2 separate regions of the Homo sapiens genome follow, and region 1 is linked to region 2. Evidence: promoter capture Hi-C in 16 types of primary human blood cells and fetal thymus (Javierre and others, 2016). All regions are on one chromosome and are shown on one strand. The core of a region is centred on a gene start or on the middle of the fragment in contact, and the rest is flanking DNA. Distances in the headings are between cores, read along the strand shown. Region 1 holds the start of TMEM51-AS2 (TMEM51 antisense RNA 2). Region 2 holds the start of CTRC (chymotrypsin C).

The links. Contacts are between HindIII fragments. The CHiCAGO score rates a contact against its expected background, and 5 or more counts as called.
Region 1: the fragment with the promoter of TMEM51-AS2 here is called in contact with the fragment with the promoter of CTRC in region 2 in 7 of 17 cell types (activated CD4 T cells, total CD4 T cells, erythroblasts and 4 more); the score reaches 6.8 in activated CD4 T cells.

What each region holds. Positions count from the first base shown.
Region 1 is chr1:15,170,173-15,173,052 of GRCh38, reverse strand. TMEM51-AS2 (TMEM51 antisense RNA 2) reads left to right here and starts at 1,429. Exons shown (of 3, transcript NR_167931.1): 1 at 1,429-1,442; 2 at 1,738-1,872. All of the region lies in intron 1 of TMEM51 (transmembrane protein 51), which reads right to left. RefSeq lists an enhancer at 740-909. The HindIII fragment of the contact is 7,186 bases long and covers 1-2,880 here.
Region 2 is chr1:15,436,885-15,439,838 of GRCh38, reverse strand. It overlaps CTRC (chymotrypsin C), which reads right to left and starts at 1,396. Exons shown (of 8, transcript NM_007272.3): 1 at 1,335-1,396. The coding sequence starts at 1,374. The HindIII fragment of the contact is 3,491 bases long and covers 1-2,524 here.

The DNA.
Region 1 (2,880 bases), core at 180-2,679, 270 kb after region 2:
ACAACCCTCCATGAAAAAGGTAGGCATTGAGCCCATTTAACAGCTGAGTACATATCCTCGGGGGATACGTTCCAAGACCCCCAGTGGATGCCTGAAACAACAGACAGCACCCGACCTTACACATAACGACGACGTTTTCTGATCTGATAACCCAGACCGCTCCTAAGTGACCAATGAGCAGGTAGTGTCGACAGCACCCATCTGCTGGACAAAGAGACGATTCACGTCTGGAGCAGGACAGAGTGGGACAGTGTGAGATTTCATCACACTACTCAGAATGGGATGCAATTTAAAACTTATGAATCATATCTTTCCGGAATTTTCCATTTAATATTTTCAGATTGTAGTTGGCTATGGGTAACTGAAACAGTGGAGAGTGAAATGATAGAAAAGGAGGAACTCTTGTAGACAATATAGGATCATAAAGGGTTAAGTCACTTGCTCAGGATCACAAAGCTGGCACGTGGTGGAACCAGAATTCTAACCCGTGGCTGTCTAGCCCCAGAGTTCACTTACTTTCTCTTTTCCTTTTTCTTCTGTCTCTGTCTCTCTCTCTCTCCTTCTTCTCTTTCTTTTTTCTTCTTTCTCTCTCTCCTTCCTTCCTTTCCATTCTTTTCTTTCCTCCCTCCCTCCTCCTTCCTTCCTTTTTTTTTTTTTTTTTTTTTGAGACAGGGTCTCACTCACTCTGTTGCCCAGGCTGGGGTGCAGTGGCACAATCTTGGCTCACTGCAGCCTTGACCTCCCAGGGTCAGGTGACCCTACCACCTCAGCCTTCCAAGTAGCTGGGACTACAGGCACGTGTCACCATGCTCCACTAATTTTGGTATTTTTTCTTTTTTGCAGAAATGGAGTTTTGCCATGTTGCCCAGGCTGGTCTTGCACTCCTGGGCTCAAGCGATCCACCTGCCTCAGCCTCCCAAAGTGCTGGGATTACAGGTGTGAGCCACTGTGCCTGGACAGAGTCCACTTTCTTTTCCATACTTCAGAAGTTTCAAACGTGGCTGGGTATGTTAATCAGCTAGAGAGCTTGTTTGAAAATCTGATTCCTGAGTCCCACTGCTGAAGTCTGACTCGGCAGGCCTGGGCTGGGGCCTGGAAATCTGCTTTTATTAAGTTCTCAGCTGATGATCTGAGCAAGGGGTTGTTGGGATGGACCACATCTGTTTCTGCTAGAAGGTCCTGTCAAGAGAGTCAGGGAACGCCCAGCAGAGCCCCAGAAACCACCTGTGGGTTCAAGGAGGAGGTTCCGCGGCAAGGACTGATTGATCAGCTGTGGTAGTTCCTGCTGTGCGGGCTTGGTTAAGCTGGAACTACTTTTCCCAGAATCCCCTTCTCTGACTGGTTCTGGGTTATAATTGGTCAAAAGAGGAATCTGTGGAAAGCTGGGAGATGGAAGTGAAGCAGCGACCATTACACTTTAGAGGTCATCATGATTGGATGAGGTGAGAGACAGCCCCGTGGGTTCCAGCACATTCGAGCCTGTCCTCCATTCTGCATCCAGCTCTTTCTCCTGACTGCTGGTCCTGTTAACCAACAGCAGCCCAGGCCCCCCCGCGGACACTTGGCTGGGGATGGACCAGACAACGGCTGGCTGTAGACTTCTCCACCAGTTTGCCCGTGTACCCAGGGCCAGGTGGCGATGCCCCTGGTCCCCGGCAACTCTTCCACCTTCCTTTCTGCCGCCCCCCCTATGAATGCATAAGAACTAATTCCTATAACAAACCCCTTATCTCATAGGTCATAGAAGTTTGGCTTCTCTCATTGACCTGGAAGGATGCCGTCATCCACTCTGACCTGCAAACCTTTTGATCTCAAACAGCGATCTTCCAGGCGTGGCCCCAAATCAACAGCATCAGCGTCACCCAGGAGCTGGTTAGAAATGCAAATCCTGGGGCCCCACTCAGACCTACTGAATCAGCAACTGGGGGTGGGGGATGTGGCGGGGGGTGGAGGAGGAGGGAGGACCCAGCAATCTATGTTTTAACAAGCCCCCCACCCCAGAGGATTCTAACACAAGCTGAAGATGGAGAACCACTCATGCAAGCATTTAGAAAACCTGCCTCTAGGGAGGCCGAGGCGGGCGGATCATGAGGTCAGGAGATCGAGACCATCCTGATTAACACGGTTAAACCCCGTCTCTACTAAAAATACAAAAAATTAGCCAGGCGTGGTGGAGGGCGCCTGTAGTCCCAGCTGCTTGGGAGGCTGAGGCAGGAGAATGGCATGAACCCGGGAGGCGGAGCTTGCAGTGAGCTGAGATCGCAACACTGCACTCCAGCCTGGGCGACAGAGGGAGACTCCGTCTCAAAAAAAGAAAACCTGCCTCCATTTCTGTTTGGGATGATGTAGTAGTTCTGGAAAAAAGACAGTGGCGATGGTCACACAGCACTGTAAATGTGCTTAATGTCCCAGAATTGTACACTTAAAAATGGTTAAAATAGGCCAGGTGTGGTGGTGACTCACGCCTATAATCCCAGCACTTTGGGAGCCTGAGGTGGGCAGATCACTTGAGCCTGGGAGTTTGATACCAGTCTGGGCAACATGGCAAAACCCCGTTTCTACCAAAAAATACAAAAATTAGCCGGGCGTGGTGGTGCGCACCTGTAATCCCAGCTACTCAGGAGGCTGAGGCAGGAGAATCGCTTGAAACTGGAAGGCGGAGGTTGCAGTGACTCCATCTCAAAAAAAAAAAAAGATAAAAAAAAACCCAGCAGTATCCCAGGCACCTAGCTTTACCTTGCCCTGCAGCAGAGGGCCGGGGGAGAGGAGGGAAAGGAGGAAGTTGGCTTGCTCATGGGTCTGTACTCCCAGGCATTCTGAGATAAAGCCCCACGACTCTCAGGTGTGTTTGGCTTGGATTTGGAATGGACTTACTAGAAT
Region 2 (2,954 bases), core at 147-2,646:
GCCTGGGAGATGGAGGTTGCAGTGAGCCGAGATCGTGCCATTGCACTCCATCCTGGGTGATAAGAGCAAAACTCCATCTCAAAAAACAAAACAAAACAAAACAAAACTGGCTGGCATGTGTGCGAGTGCCCGGTACACCTGTGTTCTTCTGTCTGTTTTTAGGCCCCTGCATCATGGTGTGTGTGTGAGAGAGCAGTAAATCCACTGTTATAGCTGGGAAGCTGTGTGGAGCGGTCAAGAACACGTGCTGTTCCGCGAGACAGACGTGGACTCAAATTCTGCCTCTTCCACTAACCTGCCATGTGATGTCAGGCAAGATACTAAGTCGCACGGAACCTCGATGTCCTCATCTGTAAAATGGGGCTATGAAAAGACCCTACCTCTTTTTCTTTCTTTTTCTTTTTTTTTTTTTTTTGAGACGGAGTTTCACTCTTGTTGCCCAGGCTGGAGTTTGATGGCGCGATCTCGGCTCACTGCAACCTCCTCCTGGGTTCAAGCAATTCTCCTGCCTCAGCCTTCTGAGTAGTTGGGATTACAGGTGCCCGCCACCACGCCTGGCTAATTTTTGTATTTTTAGTAGAAACGGGGTTTCATCTTGTTGGCCAGACTGGTCTCAAACTCCTGATCTCAAGTGATCCACCCACCTCGGCCTCCCAAAGTGCTGGGATTACAGGCGTGAGCCACCATGCCTGGCAATAGACCCTACCTCTTAAGGTTGTTTTGAGGATTAAATTGGCTCCTACATGTAAGGGGCCTAGCATAGCGTCTGGCACATAGTAAACACACAGGAAACAGGAGCTGCTATTATTACTGTTGTTGTTGTTAGCTGGAAGGACTCTTCATTAAGTGCTCTCCTTTGCCAAAAAAGTTAGTGAGATTTAGAGAGGTGAAATGACTTTTCCAGGTCCTGCAGAGAAGAAGTGGCATTTAAGCTAAGTCCCTGGGCTCCTAATCTGGGAAAACGCCACCAAAATGATGGAATGGAGAATCCTCAAGGGAGAGAGAATGCTGGGAAAGGCAGACCCCGATGGTCCCTGGGGTGAACCCAGGATGAGGCATCTCGTGTCCCTCCCCCTTGCGTGGTGCTTTCCACACCTCATTTCTAACTGGGGACACGTCAGATCATCTTCCCTGTTTTGCAGATGTGGAAACAGAGTTGGCAGGCAGGCTGTGGCTTGTCTGACACACAGCTGGTTGGTAGCATCTGAACCCACAGGGGACCCCAAAGTGTCTTACCTGGAGAGCAGAGGCCCCCCCACTCCCCATCCCGTCCTTGCCCTGGAGGCCAGCCCGAGCTCACAGCCTGCTAGCTGCAGCCCCACCCCACCGCTTACCACAGGCCAAGAGCGCAGCGAGGACAGTGATGCCCAACATGGTTAGGTGCTCAGGACTGGCTGACCATCGGGATGGGCTGGGGCACACTTATAGGCAGGAGCAGGTGAGTGCACCTGGTCAAGGCCAAACCGCCCCTTGGAGAGAAACCTGCTCTGATAAGGCCCTTTCCCTGACCTTGGGTGGTTACTGTTTAATTTGGGCAGGAGACAGGGCTTTCTTAGAAGTATGGATTTTCCAAATATCCTGAAACAGAAAATTCTGAGTTGCAGTGCTTTTTGGCATCCCCCACCCCACTCTGTTTGACGTGTGTGTTCATTCTCTCTCCCTACCTTATACTATTTATTTATTTATTTGGAGATGGAGTCTTGCTCTGTTGCCCAGGCTGAAATGCAGTGGCACAGTCTCAGCTCACTGCAACCTCCACCTCCCGGGCTCAAACGATTCTCGTGCCTTAGCCCCCTGTGTAGCTGGGACTACAGGCGCCTGCCACCACGCCAGGTTAATCTTTTGTATTTTATTTATTTTTTTGAGACAGGATCTTGCTCTGTCACCCAGGCTGGAGTCTCAGCTCACTACAACCTCCGCCTCCCGAGTTCAAGCGATTCTCCTGTCTCAGCCTCCCAAGTAGCTGGGACTACAGATGTGTGCCACCATTTTTTTTTTTTTTTTTTTTTTGTATTTTAGTAGAGACAGGGTTTCACCCTGTTGCCTAGGGTGGTCTTGAACTCCTGAGCTTAGGCAATCTGCCTACCTCAGCCTCCCAAAGTGCTAGGATTACAGGTGTGATTACAGGCCGTTACCTTATTCTTTTTAGTTATTTATTGGGCACCTACTGTGTGTCAGGCATTGCGCTCAATTCTTCTTGCATTATCTCACTTAATTCTTCCAACAACATGAAATAGACGCGGTTATCTGCTCTGAGGTGAGATGAGAAAGGACCAGGCGCAGTGGTGCATGCCTGTAGTCCCAGCTACTCCTGAGGCCAAGGTAGGAGGATCGCTTGAGCCCAGGAGTTCGAGGCTGCAGTGAGCCGTGATCGTGCCACACTGCATTCCAGCGCGGGTGACAGAACAAGACCTTGTCTCTAAAAAAATAAAATAAAAGTGAGGAAGCTGAGACTCAGCGGGTAAGTGACCATCTAGGGTCACACGGCTGGGCAGCAGCAGAGCCAGACTTTGAAGCCAAAGCTTCTAACACCAGCCTGGGGCTTCAAGCTGTGGAGACATGCTGCTCCTTCTCTGCCTTTCTAGTGCTATTGGATCGCTTCCTGGCTCTCTCTCTGTCTCATCTTTCTAATTGCCTGGGCTTGATGCACTCCTGCACCTGCCTCCAGGGCTGTGGTTGGAGGCAGGGATGCAGCAGGCTCTGGAAGGTGCTTAGTTGGCCAGATTCCTTCCTGGAGTCAGCTTAGTTGTAGGTCCTCAGTTTCCCCATCTCTAAAATGGGCAAAAGGACCAGATGGACTTTCAGGCTCCTTTCAGTTCTACAATTCTGTAACTTGAATGTCAAGGTCAGTGGCAGATCTGAGGGCCCAAAGCACTGAGTAGCAGAAATTCTACCAGAGCCTCCGGCATTCGGGGTTGGCCATCCCTTGGAACATGTGGTTTGATCCATTCGCC